Linked DNA regions of Homo sapiens: regions 2, 3 and 4 are each linked to region 1. The links are contacts of gene promoters, found by promoter capture Hi-C in human tissues and cell types (Jung and others, 2019). All regions are on one chromosome and are shown on one strand. Each heading gives the region's core, a stretch centred on a gene start or on the middle of the fragment in contact. The rest is flanking DNA. Distances are from core to core; before and after follow the strand shown.

Region 1 (4,100 bases), core at 904-3,403:
TTTCCTCATTGCTGTTTTAATGTTATTAACTTTGGTGAATACTGACCTCCCCTCACCCTTACCCTCTTCCAGCATTCTCCCCTCCTCGGGCCTACTCCACTCTTCTCTCTTCCATCCGGCTTTTGAAAATCCATCTTCTACTACGAATAAGCTTCCTCTTCGCTCCCCATTCCCCAGGCTCTTTCCTTCACACCACCTTCTCTGAGTCTTTCTAACCATCCCTGTCTGTTTAAACTGCTCCGTTAGAGGCCAAGTTTTGTTTCCTGCGCCCTTTCTCAGTGTCCCTGTACCTCCGGTTGGATTTCTAGGAAACAGACTCTGCACAGAGATGGAGATGGTATGTGGGAGGTCTCCTGGGACGTGCTCTTGGGAACAACACCTTGAGAGAGTGAGGGAAACAGGATTCGGCAGAGAATGAACTTTAACTGTGCTGCTTTCCACAGAGGCCTCGGCGGATCCCTTGGGAAGCTATGGAGCTGGGGTGGCCCTTCAGGGCCCTCCGTAATGGAAGCAAAGAGGTGAACCTTTGTATCTCCCCATCAACCAATTGGATCCGAGATACAGATGCCCCGCCCCAAGGAGTGGCAACCTGGTTTATATAAGCCACCACTCAAATAGTTATCTTGAACTAGCCCAGAGATCTCCTTCTTTCTAAATCTAAACCTATTTTCTTGGGCGCCCTCCTCCGTGGTGTCCCTGCAGCCCGGGCCCCGGCCCCCATTGAACCTCCCTCTTCTCCTGAGTCCTGACACCCCGCACAGTCCTGACCTTCCCTTATGGTTTCTCCTGATAGTTTCCGTTCCTTTCATGGGCTCCTTCTCGGTAGACCTAGATTCTGTCTTCAGCCCTGTTCTCTGTACCTTTTCTACCCTCTCCCTCCACCTCTTGTGTCGGCCCAACTTCTTTCCAGATGATTCCAAAATTGACATCCCTTGCCTCAGTCTCTCCTATGAACTCCAGAATCACCCTTCCAATTGCATTTGCTGGATATCTGCCCCTGGAAGAAGGTGGCCTGCTTCTCCAATCCAACTTGCTCCACACTAAACTCAGTCACATCACTCCAGGTTCTCCTCCAGACTTCCACAATGTTACAGCCCCAGTGTGCTCCTCCTACACCACACAGTCTGTAGACTCTCCTTTGCTGCAGCTTCCGCATTCATCCCCCAGTTAAGGTCCTCATCTCACGGGACTATTGGAATCATCTCCTTCCTGTGTGGCCCCCCGCGAAGCCCTTCTCAGCAGCCAGCTGGGGTATTTAGAACGTTGGTGCTCCCGGTACAGTGGCTTTGTCAGCGTCCCCTGCCTCCAGTGGCTTCCCTGATCTAGCAACCTGGTAAATGGGTAATCTTCCTCACTGCAGCTAAGTTTCAAAAGAACACGGTTGGATAAGCACAAGGCCCTTGTTACTTTGGGAAATAGATAATCCATGCCCCACTGTTAGGGCCAGTCCCGTTAGGGCCAGCTTTGCACCTTCACAGGGACTCAGCAGGAACAGATGGGCTCTACTCTCTGTTATTCCTTTTTGCTTCAGATTAGAGAGACCTTGATTCTCCCCGGGGCCCAGGAAATGTAAAGCTGATGCTCCACAGGACTCTAAGAGGGACACGGCAGTGATGGGGGCTGGTGAGGAAGGGGGATGGAGAACCTCTCTCTTATCAGACAGGCTTGTCCCTAGGGTCCCTGGAAACCCCCAAAGGCCAACCTCTCCCAGGGGCCGACAAACGTAAAGGGCAGGGAGACCTAAGCGGGGAGCTGCGGAGCGCGGGGAGTTTGAAAGCCGCTCCACCGCCCTACTAGTCCGTCCTTTTGCCCCGCCCCCCTTAGGGATCCCCCCGGCAACCGCACAGCTGCCTCGGACTCTGACTTAATTCCCTCCGCGTGCTCTGAATCGCAGAGAGGCAAACCCCCAAACAAAGAGCCGGCAGCTCGCGTGCGGGGCTCCCGGGCGCGTCCTGCCGGCTGGGCTGGGAGAGCCGGCGCCGGGGCGTCGCGGCCGAGCGCTGGGCAGGCGGGGACTAGAGGGCCGGCAGGAAGCCTCAGTGGGCGCAGGGGCGCGGGCCGGGCTGCCCACACGCTGACCTTCCCGGGCTGGGAGGGAGGAGCGCTGGCTGCGGGCGGTGGGCGGCTGGGCGGCCCCGGGAGCCGCCGCTCTCAGTCTCTCTAGGCGCAGCTCCCTTCGCCGCTTCCGGAGCCCCTGGCAGGGTAAGTGCAGAAGCGCGCCCGAGGAGTGGGGGCGCCGCGGGAGGGGGCTGGGGGTCCAGGAGAGGCGCCTCCACCTCCGCTGCCCGCCCCGCCGGCAGTCCCGAGCTAGACTGTCCCGAGCTTCCCCCGGGCGGGCAGAGGGAAGCCGGCTGGGGATGAGGAGTGGAGGAGGCAGGAATGCCTGGGACACTCGCGGGGCATGTGAGCAGGTATTGGTGTCTGCATGGGACACGCAACACGGTGTCCATAACTATGCGCATGAGTCTGCCTTTCTGCACTTGTGCCTTGGGAGAGAGCTCTGGGCCTCTGAGGGCCTCGTGCCGTCCAGCGTGCCCGGGGCATGTCTGTTCCTCTTGAAAATGTCATTCTTTGTCCACCCTGAATTCGAGTAGCTGCCTCTCATGGCTACACCAAAATGCTGTATCTGGTGCACATTGCTTTCAGAGGGCCTGTCTGCCTGTGCAGGGATGTCCTCATGTTCTGGGCACGTCTGTGTATTTGTGACAACATGGCTGTGTAGGCCCTGTCACCTGTGTTTTCGTGCCCATCCCTGCATGTGCAGTTGGCCGGCTCCGTGTGGAAAGAAGGCATGGAAGGTTCTGGGGTGTATCCTTTTCACCAGCCATATGTGCAGTGTGCACATGTGTGAATTGGTGGAAAGTATGAAAGGGAGGCAGCCCAGTTGGGCTTGGCGGGACAGCATCTTAACTTGAGTCTAAGCTGCTGTGTGCAGGAGGAATAAGTGTTCCAGAGGTCTCCAGTTCGTGGCAAGTATTGTGAGGTGAGCGTGGGGGTGGGGGGTGAGGAGAAGAGGCAGCTTCTGGAAAAACTCATAAGTGCACTCTGGGGCATAGGGTGTGTGTGGGGGAGCGTGAAGAAGAGAATGAGGGTGGTATTAGGCCAAAGTGGATAGTCTGTGTTCAATTTGTGGGCAGCTGGATTGCAGTGGAAAGCAGCAGTTAGAGGCTGGAGACAGGTTTGAATCAGAACTTAATGGTTGTCACTGTGTCAGTAGCATTGTTCCCTGGACAGATAGGTCATCTGGGGCTCAGTTGCTTTTTGTGCAAAATGGGACTAATAACCACTGGCCCCATCTGTCTCCCAAGGGACTGGAGGCTCCAATTAATGCCTGGAAATGCTTTGATGATAGTTAAGACTCCTAGGGTAAGGGGCACTACTGGCCTACAGGGGCCAAGTTGGTGGTCTGGCGAGGGCTTAGGTGGCCCAGAGCTGTTTGGTTTGTGGGTAGCAGAGGGAGGCATTTGTGTGCTGTTTCCCACTATATTCAGCATAGCAGGAATTTTATACCCACCTTTGGACTCGTGTGTAAAATATGTACAGGCCTGTGTGATTCCCCATAGTTCTTGTGTGAGTGCTGCAGAACAAGAGGAAAACTGGCGTTGATGTCTTTAAGTCTGCCTAGAGCACCTTGACTTTCCAGAGAGCCTTTCTTCAGATGAGCCCAGGACATTTATAACCACCAACTTGCTTTTCTTTTTATGCCGCCAAATGAAGCAGTAAGGAGCACCCTTCACAGTTTGTAGCCAGGGAGATAGGAGATGAAGAAGCTTTCCCAGCCAAGGTCACAGGCCTGGGGTGTCCACCACCAAGTTCTATCTCTTGGGTTACAGTGCCTTCAGACCCAGGGCCAACGCTGGACTGGGCTGAAGAAGGAGGGAGGCATCAAAAGTCATGCACAGACGGCACCGAATTCCAGGATGTAGTTGGGTGGTTTGTCCACCCTCGGATGTCACCTGTCACTGAGACTTCTTTGTATGTGATAGCTGTTTAGTAGTGTTTGTAAAAGGAAAGATCCTTGGATGGGAGATGCCGGCAACCCAGGTCAGGTCCCGGCTCAGCTCCCTGCCTGGGGAAGGTCACATCACCTCTCTGGGTCT
Region 2 (4,100 bases), core at 585-3,084, 110 kb after region 1:
TAGGGAGGGGAAGAGTTCCCAACTATTCCATCCAAGAGGGGGCAAGGAAGGACAGTGGCAAGCCCAAGTCTGGAGCTATTTCCTCCCAATAGTGAATGTCTGGTAACTTTACCCAGAAGTTCTGATTTTTCTCGTTAGTCAAACAGGACTCTGACTTCCAAGATTAGGCTAAATCCAGAGCAGTTTGGGGAATGAAGGAATCTGGCTGAACAATGGAAGTTGGAATCATTGCCCTACCATCAGCAACTCCTTAACAGAAACAAACTCCTCTGCCCACTCGTCATATCCACAAACTATTTTCATAGAAGAGAATGTCCCAGCTAGAAATGCAAGTGGACGAGTGCCAACCCAATGAGGCTAATGATTTGCAAGTGGAGACCTCTGAGCAACTTGGTAAAGAAAGCAGGGCTTGGCCTTCGCCCGGGAGGCTTGGGACCCCTGACCACCCCCTACCCCATCACCAATAAACCTCTCAGAAGGAGGAATTCTGTGACAGCCCTCAGAAGAGAGTGGCTATCCACTGGCCACAGCGATGACTAAAGCGAGGTTCATGCCACAGAAGAACACAAAGGTCACCAAAGCTGTCTAAAGCAGACACTGAATTTATTATTCGCCGAAGAAGGGGAGACACTCATTTCGTTAAGAAAGGTCAGAACAGCTCTCCAAACTGAAGGTGAATAGGACAGATACACTGTGGAAAAGAGGACATTTTGTTCAAAGGTCTGATTGGCTCAAAAAGCAAGTTGTAAACTCTCTTCTGGGACTGACTGCTTTTCTGACTTTGTGTCACAGAGGCATGAGAACAGCTCGTGGGAGATTCTGGATGGATCTGACCTGTGGTGCACGGCCCTGGCAGCCTGGTGTCTGTGCCTCCTCTCGAGGTGAGATTTTTCTCTGGCACCCACTTGGGTTAAGGTGAGGAACCCTGGAGCCCATGGGCCTGCTGCATGGCTCTGCACCCATCACCCGGCTCTCTGATCCTCACTGCCTAGGATGGAGAGATATGCAGCCCTCCTGGCTGCAGGTATGAGGAAACCACATGAAAGCTGTTCCAGAAATTTGTTGGCATGTGGCCATCATATCTTCTAACCAGGAAAACTGAGTCACAGAGCTCCAAGCCCCAGTAAGTTGGAGGATACATTACTAAAATGCTCCTGAATAGGCAAAAAATAAAAAAAAATTAAAAAAATAAAGAAAAGAAAAAGAAAAAAAAAGGCAAACTGGAAAGAGCTAACCCCAAATTAATCATGTCTAAATCCCAGTGGTAGGTTTGCAGGAGATTTCTAACTTCTCTTCTGTATTGATTTTCTGTATTAATCTTTTCTGTGTTGGTGTTCTGTATTCTCCAAATTCTTTACTATGTGTGGTTTTGAAATCATATTTTTTTAAAATTTGATTTTTAAAGGATGAGCTCCAGGTCAAGGTTGCTATTAAGTCAAAGGTATGCATAGTTCTGGCACAGTGACTCAAGCCTGCAATCTCAGAACTTTGGGAAGCTGAGGCAGGCAGATCGCTGGAGGCCAGGAGTTTGAGACCAGCCTGGGCAACATAGAGAGACTCCATTTCTACTAAAAACTTAAAAAGTTAGCTGGGCATGGTGGCATGCATGTGCAGCCCTAGCTACTCAGGAGACTGAGGCAGGAGGATTGCTGGAGCCTGGGAGTTTGAGGTTACAGTGAACTATGATCCCTCTACTGTATTCCAGCCTGGGTGACAGAGGGAGATCTTGTCTCTATTGAAAAATGATAATAAAAAAAAAGATCTGTGCTCAGCAAAGTCAGGATATTATCCCAGAATCGGAGTTGAGAATTCAGAGCTGGTGGCTACGTCTGGCAGCCCTATGCTGGCTAGAGCCCAGGGCTCCATCTCCAGCATCCCAGTCCAATTACCCTCTTCCTCCTTAGCAATGAGTAATACACCACCTCTTGAAGCCGCAGGCTGGTGTCTCCTCCTTGACAATTTCTTGTGCTTGCTGTTCTCCGCCTTGTTACCCAGTGGCCCTGTGCCACATCAAGGACTTAGGCTTTCTATTTCCTCCTAGGACCCTCCCTGAGTCCCCTCAGCCTCTTCACTTGCTTCTCCATGGCCCATCCCATCAGTTACTTCAGCAATCCCTCATCCCCTTGACCTCACCGTCTGCCCCTGGGGACAATCACAGGAGGACTCCCCTTGACTCAGTCCAGCTGCCACCTTCTCTGTCCTGTGTGGGGCGGCTGAGCGCTGCTGAGACCACATGGCCTCATGGATCTAGACGGGTATGAGCTCCTGGCCTCTGCTTCGTCCTTGGTGCTGCCCGTAAGTCCTGTGGTCTCTGGCCAGCTTTATGTCCTACTCCCCCAATGGCTATGACAGACCCTCGCCGGTCTCCTGAAGCTTTCTTTCCTACTGACTCGCCCCTCGCCAGCCCCAGCTCCCAGCGACCTTGCCCTCTGCTTCAAGGAAGATGAAAAGTTTCTTATGTGGGAGGAATGTTTGCACTTTCTAGACTCCCTCTGCAGAGACCCTCTTCCTGGCAACCTCTCCTTCTACAGCCATGGGCGGTGCTGACCAGGAGAGGAGCCACTGGGAGTCCTGCAGAAGGCCTCCTGGCAGCCACGGCCTCCCCACTGTCCCCAGCAGCAGCAGTGCATCTTCAGGCAGCTCTGACTGCTGGACCCTGCAGACTCAGACCCCCACCCCTCTGCAGCAGGAAGTTTACTGCTTCTGGGAACCCACAGGATGTGAGAGAAAACAACTCCATGGGGCTGGGAGCCTTGGGTTTGAAAGTTGGACCTGGCACCCACTGGCTTCACTTTCTTGAGAGTAGAGTGGAAGGCAATCCCGCCCAACCTCCCACACACCATGACAAGTGCCCGTGGGTAATAAATGGAAAAGTGCTTTGTAAAATGCTCCCCCTATGTGAAGGATTTATGCTATAAATCCTTAGAATGACTCATCTGAGCTCTTAACCTACTTTCTTAGCCCTTAAATGTTTGCTTTTCAACAGGGATTCCTGAGCCCTGGCTTGTTCTTGAATTTGCAGGAGCCACAGACCCTTCACCCCATGCCAACTGACCAGAGGCCTGATGCTCCTGCCCTCTTCTCTCCCTGCCACTCCAACCAGAAGACCTCTGGCCAGTTGCCATCCAGGGACCTGGCATGACCTCCCCAGCCTTTGAGGCAGTGATCTGGATGCCCAGAGAGTCAAATACAGAGAACCAGGGACTGGCACCCCAGCTGTGGGTTCTCAGAGTGGGCTCATGTGAAGGAGTGAGAAACAAGGAGCACAGGAACCTCTCTCTGGCAGCCCACCCCTCTGTGCCCACGGAACCCGCTACTGAGGGCTCAGCATGAGGACTGTGTGCAGCCTCTCCTGAGACCCTCACTCACCAGGTACTTGCAGATTTCCTCCAGGACCTACATGCATGTGGTCGCTGAGCGTGGCACGCAGCAATGGCTGGATGAGTGAGGACCAGCCAATCATGTCAGCCCACACCGCCAGAGCCTTTCCCCAGGCCTATGGGATGGAGAGAAGGGAGGCCTCAACCTCACTCCTGTGACTCTCCAGCCAAGGGGCTGAGTGGAAGCCCTTCCGTCATAAAGAGAGGGCAGATATGTTCAGAGCCACCCAGAGGACAATGTCAAAGAGGTGAATGTAGAGCCTACAGGCAAGGCTGGGCTCATGGAAATGGCCACAGGGAAGGGGCCCTGCTCTCAAGGAAAGGGGACACATATCAGGCCTGGCAGTGGCCAGACAAGTGACAGCCAGTGTACCTGGAGCACTTCCATGTTATTTTCCTGAATGCTGAGCACCAATGATATCAGAAGTGTGAAAAAATTTTGGGGGGTGATGCCTCCAGGCTTACATGTTTTTAGTTGCTGCAGCATGTGGCCCACAGCAGAGGTGGCTGAGATCCTCACCTTCTCCTGCTCCTGCCAGGAAGCGCAAAGTGGAGATGAGAGGCAGTGGCTTCCCTGGCCCTGCCTGGCCTGGCTTCCGTCCTTCCACATCTTGGTCTCTGTGTGCAAGGGGCCCCAGCTGTACTGTGCTTAGCTGATGCATAGACAACATGATGTGTGTATGTGAGGGGTTCTCTCTAGAGACCAAGAGCTAAGAAGCC
Region 3 (4,100 bases), core at 849-3,348, 92 kb after region 1:
TCTTCAACTCTCCCAGCTTTGCCCTCCTTCCCTGTCCGCTCTTCTAGGGGAGTCGGATCGAGTTGTAAGGAGAACATGCCCACTGTCTTGATGGCTGCAGTGTGTGGTCCCCACAGGTGGTGAGGAAGAGATGGGTTTCCACCCATGCTGTACACGGAATGTTTGTGTCCTCCCCAAATTCCTATGTTGAAGCCCTAACCACCAATGTAATGGTATTTGGAGATGGGCCTTTGGTAGGTAATTAGGGTTATATGAGGCCATGGGGTGGGGCCCTCATGATGGATCTGGTAAGAAAAGAGAACAGTGTCTCTCTCTACCCACCAAGTGAGGACACAAAGAGAATGTGGCTGCGTGCAAACCAGGAGGAGAGCCCTCACCAGGAACCAATCTAACTGACACCTTGAACTTGGACTTCCAAACCTCCAGTACTGTGAAAAATAAATGTATGTTTTTAAAGTCATCTAGTCTACACTATTTTGGTTTGACTAATACAACCTGAAAATACATTTTCCCCTCACCCTACCTGAGCAATATCTAAGTTGCTTAAGGCACCCAGGGCACATCAGAGGAGAAATGTCCCATGCACAAGGCACAGCCATGCCCAGGAGAAGCAGCCCGGCACAGAAGGGAGCACACAGGCTCGGGGCTCTGCCACTCATTCTTCCTGTGACCCTGGGCAAGTCACTGAGGGGGTGCTTCAGCTGACCTGTTTATAGCGGGCTTAATAGTGCTTGCCTTGCCTCCTGTGGAAGGCTGCAGAGACCGGATGTTAAAGCACTTTGTTATCTGTAGGGTTTATTTGAATGAGAAAGGAAATATGCATATGCTCCAGGATGTCTGTGTATCCAAAGACACACACTCACACACACACTCTCACACACTCACACTCACACACACACTGACACGCACACATGCTCCCACACACACACTCACACACACCCACACATGCTCACACACTATACTCACACACACTCACAACTTGCACACACTCATACACACACACATTCACACACTCTCTTTCTCACACACACACACACACACACACACACACACTCTATCACATACCAAGCCTGGTTGCGTGTTCTCAAAGATGTGTTGCTAGGCACCAAGGTACTACTCCCAGTTCTAGAACCGGACCAGACAGTTCACCCTCCAGACGGTTCACCCTCAACTGTATAAAAGTTCTCTACCTAATCTACTACTGACAGACTCATCTCAGACCTAATTTTAAAGATTTCCTAGGAACTGAATTGCAAAAACTTTTACCCTCACCCTAGAGCTGCAATGGGAATCCTTGACCTCAGCCTAGACAAAGAAAAGCTGCAGGTCATTCTCATGTGTGGACAAGGAGGCCCTGCCTGCCTTTGCTGGCCAGCTGGGCTGAGTGGGCCTAGGGAAGGAGGACTGCAGGGTTGGTCCCAGGCAGTCTTGATGAGGCTTGCCTGCATCCTCCAACCTCCTTGATTCCCAGGATCCGTGAGCATGGACTTTAGGAACTCTGGTGGAGGGGTGAAGAGCATGCAGTAGGGTGTCCTGAGCCCTGATCTATAGGAAGAAAATCGTAATGATTTCCTAGGAGACTGAGGACTTAGTTTAAGAGTTTAAGATGTTCCCTTGTATCACAGTTCATGGAACAGACTCCCCTCTCTCCTGGAAACCACTTTCCTCAACGGCATTAAACTTCTCCAAGGTGCATTGCTTTTTGGGAAGTCTTCCAAGGATAGTTGGATTAAAGAGGAAGGAAATGTCTCACTCTCTAAACTGTTAGACAGATGCAGCCAGACAGAAGATACAGCCAGCTTCTGTTGCTGTTTATAAGGTATTTGAAAGAAGCTTGGGTCCAGAACTCTGCCCAGAATGCTCTGTGCTGTGCAGGCAAAGACAAGCACTTTCCCTTGTGGGATCCTTGGGCTGAAGTCATCACTGGTTCTAGAACCGGTTTTACTGAACACCCATGAATGTCTGTGTTCCGAGTGAGTTGGTCACTCACATCACCCTGACCTGCCCTGAGTTAGAACTTACATGATCCTACTTCTCCAGGAAGCTTCTGTGACAGCCAGGGACCTCCCCATTCTCTGAAACGTACAGCATTTGAAGCTTCACTAGACTGCTTAGTCCCTGTGGTTGTTCTCTGAGAGGTGGTAAAGCACAGCGATTACAAGGAAGGCCTTTGGTACTAGACTGCCTGGACTGGAGTCCTTATTCTGCTTAATAGCTGTGTGATCCTAGGCACGTTATTTGTGCCTCAGTTTCTACTCTATAATAATTTAGGGACAATAACTGCATCTGTCTCTGTGGTGAGGATTCAGTGAGTTAATATATTTCAAGTGCTTAAAATGATGCCTGTGTCCATAGATGGATGAATGGATAAACAAACTGTGGTATGTACAAACAATGGAATATTACTAAGCCAGGAAAAGGAATGCAGAACTGATGCATGGCACCATGTGGTTAAACCTCAAAAGCATTATGTGAAGTGAAAGAAGCCAGACACAGGTCACATATTATGTAATTCAATTTATATGAAATATCCAGACTAGGTAAATCTATGGAAACAGAAAGCAGATTGGTGTTTTCCAGGGGCCGAGTGGAGGGGAGAATGGGAAGTGGCTACTTCATGGGTACAAGTTTTCATTTTGGGATGATGAAAATGTTTTGGAACTACAGAGAGGGAGTGGTGGGACAACATTGTGAATGTACTAAATGCCACTGATTGTTCACTTTAAAATGGTCAATTTTATGTGCATTTCACCTGGGGCATAAGAAGTGCAGTGCAAGTGCTAGTTGTCGTCCTGCATGCATTCCTTGACTTCCTCGATGGAAGGACCAGGGCTATGTTTCGTACTTTCATATCCTCCTTGGTGTGGACATTTACTGGCTATGAGGTGGAATCAGAGGAAGTGAGAGCCTGAAAGACTTCAGTGATCGCAGAGCTGATGCTCCACTGATAGAGGAGATGGGGCGGGGATGCCACTGGGATTTTCTGTGTGCTCCAGGGAAACCTTTCCTTTCCTCAGGTCCAGGATGAGGAGACACAGCAACGTCCCTGTCACCACAGTTATTGAGTGCTTGCCCCGTGCCTTCAACAAGCCAGGGAAACAGACACATAACCAGATGATGCGAGTGCGATGCGTGTTTCGATAGGCACCGCGGAGGGCAGCCAGGTGCCTGGGAGCACTCACAGAGGAGCTCGTCTAGTTAAGATTACTTTCAGCTGTGCCCAAAAGAAACCCGACCACAGGGCTCAAGCACCGGGGTTCATATTCTCCACACAACAGGAGAAAGGAGGTCGGTAGCCCAGGGCGGACATGGTGGCTCCATGATGCCTTCAGGAACCCAGGACTTCCTTCTACTCTGCCTGAGCACGTGGGTTTCAGCCTAAGAGTTGTAATATGTGTCCCCATTCGCAGGTGCTGCATAGGAGTCCCAGGCAGGAAGTAGGCAAGCACATAGAAAAAGGGTAAAAGGCAGAAATGAGGCCAATCTCTTCCTTTTTAAAAGGAGATTCCTAAGAATCTCTGCCCAGCTGCTTCCTCTTACATCTTATTGACCGGCACTGGATCACACGAGTGCTTCTAGCTGCATGGGAGTCTTGGGATTCTAACAGGAGGAAGGAGAGGGCAGGCAGAGGGCAGCTGTGCAGCTTCTGCTGGAGACACCAAACCGTTGGTGGAGGGATTGGGGTGCTCAGAGAAGGCTTCCTGGAGGGTGTGACGGCAGAGATGAACTTAAAGGCCAAGTGGGGGTTACCCTGGGGAAGCAGGGCAGGGTTACAAGCATTCCAGGGACAGGAGGCAGCATCAGTGTTTTAATGAAAAGATGGCAGTTCCTATAACAAACTATAAACAATCAAATAAAGGCTTAAACACAATGGAAGTTTATTTCTCAATAACGGAAAGTCCAAATCCATGATGCTTTAAGTCAGGGACCCAGGTTCCTCCCATCGATGCCTCCCAATCTGCCATTGCTAACCTGGGGCTTCCACGATGGTCACACTCCTTGGAAGTGAGAAGAGCAGACAGAGGACATGTGGGAGGTTTGAGGGACAGGCCTGGAAGCAGCATGTGTCACTCCAGTGCAGAGTCCATTGGCCTGCGCCG
Region 4 (4,100 bases), core at 957-3,456, 84 kb before region 1:
ATTGAGACCTTTCTAGGAAAAGGGCAGTAACTTCCAGGTTGTTGCCATGGAAAGGAGTGGGAATTTCCGAGTTGTTGTCATGGCATTTGTAAACTGTCATGGCGCTTGGTGGGAGTGTCTAATGCAAGTGAGCAATGAGGTCAGCTAGCAATCATTTTGTCACCATCTGCTGGTTTTGTTGTTTTTTTTAACTTTAACCTGTTTGGACTGCATCCTGTTTCGGTTAGCAGGGTTGTGACTAGAAAACAAGTATTCTATTTCAGTAGGAGGCCTGACTGTGAAGGCTTATCAACCTAGTCTCTGAATCCAAGTGGAATCATATGGGACCCCCCCCCCATCAATGGGGCCAGGTATTAGGTGGCTCAGAGATGGCTCTAAGTGGTCTGATGACCTCATAGCCGACCCAATAAATACCGTCTTCATGTTTCTTTCACCATTGTCAATAAATAGGATCCTGTTTCAGTAACAGAGGTACACTTCACACACATTATGCAACACATGCATGTGTACATGAGGCCATTGGAGCATATTTCATTTTCAGAAGGCACCAATGTCGGATATTTGGTCAGAACAAATAACTGCATGTGGAGCGGTTCCCTCAACCTTTTCCCTTTCATGTCTTTTAAGCCCATCAGGCAAATTGAGCTGATAAGCATTGCCCTGATTCCCCGGAGTAACACTGAGAGCTGATTATCTATACAGGCTGCCAGAAGTTAGTACCTGAAACACCACAGCTGCAATCATGGTGACAATTGCTACTAAATTAATATGTGACAGTGCCAGGTGCTGTTCTAAGCTCTTGACAAATAGTAACTCATTTAACTAGTAGTAGCTGATACAGCATTTTATAAGAAACTTAAATCAAAGTGATTCACCTGTGTTTGGAGACGAAAAATAAAAAAGGCATAGTATCAACCCATTACTATTCTGTGCTCTGGGCAGGCCCAGTCCTCCCATGGGAGGCAGTGACGAAGCCACAGGCTGCCAAGATCACTCTACCCCGGCACCCTCCCGAGGCACAAGGAGGATGAACATTTCCCTCTCCCTATGCCCATTTTGTTTAAGCAGCAATGACAATGAGGAGGCCACATGAGACAATGTGGATATAACTCCGGATCTATTACTTACCCTCTTGGTCTGATTAAAAGCAGGAGCAGGAGGTCCCCATGCTTAGAGGCTCTCTCCAACCCATGGCTCCAAATAACTTTTTATGCTTCACTCAAAATCTCCCATTCCTACCAGCCATTCCTTTCTGTGGTACAAAGCCCTCCCTTCCCCATGTTCCCCAACCTTCCCCAAAGGGAACCAAGGGAACCACAAGGTGGCTGAGCTCCAGATGACCACGGGCTTTAATTACCCACTGTCTTTTCCTTGCAATGCCATAGCACAGGGGGTGTCTGCTGCCAGGCTATCCAGGGGAGAACATGCCAGGCAGCTCAATCTAGCTTTTCCTCAGCTTGGTCAGAAGCTCTCAATCTTAATATTGGACAAAGACAAACCCACCACTGAACAGCCTGGGTTTTCTTCTTGTTTGACTCTCTTGTCCTACCATGTTTAGAAGCCTGTGCTGTTTCTCCTAAATGTATCATTCTAGCCCCTTAAATAGAAATTGTGTTAACTGGCATATTCTTGGTGCCTTTCCCTTTCCCTCTGATATAGACTTGACCTCTAAATTTTCCCCTTTGACCAATACCTTCACTCAACACTTACTGATCACAAAACATGTCTAGAAGAAATCGAGAATATGACTAGAAAAGAAGGTTTTGCAAAAAGACTAAAAGTGGGTGGCTTTGGAGGACAACTACTTGCCCCTCCTAGGATTTTACCCTAGCAAGGCTAGTTCCAGGGCTACTAAGGAGAGTGGTCCCAAGGATATTACCTAAGCCAAGTGACCTTTGCCTTGGTGCCCATCCCCTTAGAGGTCTACAGGCCAAAACAGTACAAAAAGCAAGATGGCAGAGTCAGATGGAGATAATGCCTGGTTTAGAGGCAGGAGGGCCAGGATGGTATTGCATGCAGGACAGTAATGTTTACTAAGCATCTGGGAATAGGACTTCGCTTGATCCAAAATGACTGGGAAAAAGCTCCATGGCACATCTGATAAGAAAGGAAATTAACCCAAATCCTTATCTGGGTTCCTGACTAAGAAGAACTGGAAACTCTCATCACTGGTCAAGATGAACCTGTCATCACTGGCCATTCCTATACAAGTACAGAAATGCATGAAAACTTTTAGATCACCTTGTACATAATGTATTGAAAATATAATCAGGAGTTGTGATAGGTGAATGATGGGAGGACCTCTAGTTTGGGCCTAAAGAGATGATGTTTAGGCTAAACTCAGGCAATTAAAAGAAATTAACTGTCTTTCAGGGGCATGCATTGCAGAAGAGGAAGCTTATACAAGTCTCTAAGGCAGGAACAAACTTAGGGGACAGACACAAAGACAACCATGGCTGAAGCCTACTGCCAGGAGGGGTGAGGGAGGCAAGGGCAGGCACTGGCAAGGTCCGCAGGACCCAGGCCCTATGCAGCTTCTAGGGAGAGGGGTCTGGATTTCTTTGCAAATCAGATGGACAGCCCCTGGAAGCTTTTAACCAGGAGGGTGATGTGATCAACTTAGATTAAAAAGACAACCTCCAGATGGTCTATGGAGAACACCCGAAAGGGGAAGAGAATACAAATATGAAGGCCAAGCAAGAGGCTGCTGTAGTACTCCAGGCAGGATGTGATGGTAGCTTTCACCAGGCTGGACATAGTGGAGAGGGAGGAAGCTGCATCCATTTGGGAAATGCTTTAGAGGTCATCTCGACAAGACTTTATGGTGGATTGGATGTGAGTTAAACGGGAGAAGGGAATCGAGGGTGGACCTCTAGGGTTTTGGCCTGAGTGACTCTGGGTGGATGGTGGGGCTAATACAGGAGTTATTAAGAAATAATTTTCAGGCAGATAGAGAAGGTAAAAGGAGTTCTCAGTCAGGGTTTTTCTTTTAATGAAAGCAACCTCCAAACTATTTCTTTTCTAACAGAAAGGTACTTAAAGAGGGCCAGGCGGGCAAGCTTTGATATGCAAATGCACGTCATTAGAAACTGGGTCCACCCAATATGGCAATTCCCACCTTCTTCTTCTTGTCACCAGGTATGCCAAGTGTCATGGGCACCTCCAGATAACTCCACATGTTTGGGACATCATGGCAGGCCCGCATGTGCATACTAAAGGGCTAAGTTGGGATGGCCAGGTTTTTTGCCAGCTACGTGAATGACACACCTGTTCAAACCAATCCCTTGGGCCCTATACAAATCAGACACCGCCTCCTCCAGCCTCCCGTATAACCAACCACTTTTCTGCCACACACAGGGTTTCTCTTTGCTTGGATCCCCCTCCCTCTGTCTCTGTATGGGGGAGCTGTTTTCTTCTTCCTTTCCTCTTTCTTGCCTATTAAATTCTCTGCTCCTTAAAACCACTCCAGACTTGTGTCCATGTCGGTCATCATGAGACCAAGGACTCTGGTGTTCCTCCAGTCATCGGAGCCATATCATTTTGGTGCATTGGCCGGGAATTCATTCAACGGATTGGTGAGTACAGAGTGGAGCAAATCTCAAACTCAAATCTGTCCTTTAATCTCAAGGCTCTCTTCCTGCTATTCTGTCGCCAAACTTTCTTTCTCTTTCTATCCGTGGTCTCTTACTCTCTCTGTGTGTGTAGAATGTGCAGGAATTTTTACAGCCTAAGGGAGTAATCCTGTTAAGCAAGATCAGGAAATGCTGTAGCACTGGGGATATAGCTCAGGAAAATGTCCTTGCAATCTTCTAGGAACAGAGATTCCCACCCCTCCACGCCATCCCCCCAATGCCACCTCCCCCACCACACCACCACCTCCCCACCACGTGGTGAGGTTACTTGCTACTAATTCGCTGGTAAGACATGGTATTCCTAAGACAATAGCGCCACCTAGTGGAAATAGAAATTCTGGCCAGGTACGGTGGCTCACACCTGTAATCCCAGCACTTTGGGAGGCCGTGGCGGACGGATCACATGAGGTACGGAGTTCGAGACCAGCCTGACCAACACGGAGAAACCCCATCTCTACTAAAAATACA

The links. The method cuts DNA at HindIII sites, captures the fragments that hold promoters and counts their contacts. A contact is called where the count stands out against the background at its distance.
Region 2: a fragment that was not itself captured here is called in contact with the fragment with the promoter of TSPAN11 in region 1 in 5 of the 25 tissues and cell types used here (H1 embryonic stem cells, IMR-90 fibroblasts, liver and 2 more).
Region 3: a contact is called between a fragment that was not itself captured here and the fragment with the promoter of TSPAN11 in region 1, in 3 of the 25 tissues and cell types used here (liver, mesenchymal stem cells and thymus).
Region 4: a contact is called between a fragment that was not itself captured here and the fragment with the promoter of TSPAN11 in region 1, in 3 of the 25 tissues and cell types used here (H1 embryonic stem cells, mesenchymal stem cells and thymus).

Annotation. Positions count from the first base shown.
Region 1 is chr12:30,924,595-30,928,694 of GRCh38, forward strand. It overlaps TSPAN11 (tetraspanin 11), which reads left to right and starts at 2,154. Exons shown (of 8, transcript NM_001370302.1): 1 at 2,154-2,202. LOC124902911 (a long non-coding RNA gene) reads right to left here and starts at 2,095. Exons shown (of 2, transcript XR_007063264.1): 1 at 1-2,095. The HindIII fragment of the contact is 5,500 bases long and covers 1-4,100 here.
Region 2 is chr12:31,033,534-31,037,633 of GRCh38, forward strand. The region is part of intron 2 of DDX11-AS1 (DDX11 antisense RNA 1); the gene reads right to left. Among named protein-coding and RNA genes, the nearest start is that of TSPAN11-AS1, 30 kb to the left of the region's middle. The HindIII fragment of the contact is 6,117 bases long and covers 1-4,100 here.
Region 3 is chr12:31,016,908-31,021,007 of GRCh38, forward strand. It overlaps DDX11-AS1 (DDX11 antisense RNA 1), which reads right to left. Exons shown (of 3, transcript NR_038927.2): 3 at 3,856-4,100. Among named protein-coding and RNA genes, the nearest start is that of TSPAN11-AS1, 13 kb to the left of the region's middle. The HindIII fragment of the contact is 3,757 bases long and covers 221-3,977 here.
Region 4 is chr12:30,840,775-30,844,874 of GRCh38, forward strand. No RefSeq gene overlaps it. Among named protein-coding and RNA genes, the nearest start is that of LINC00941, 47 kb to the left of the region's middle. The HindIII fragment of the contact is 4,014 bases long and covers 200-4,100 here.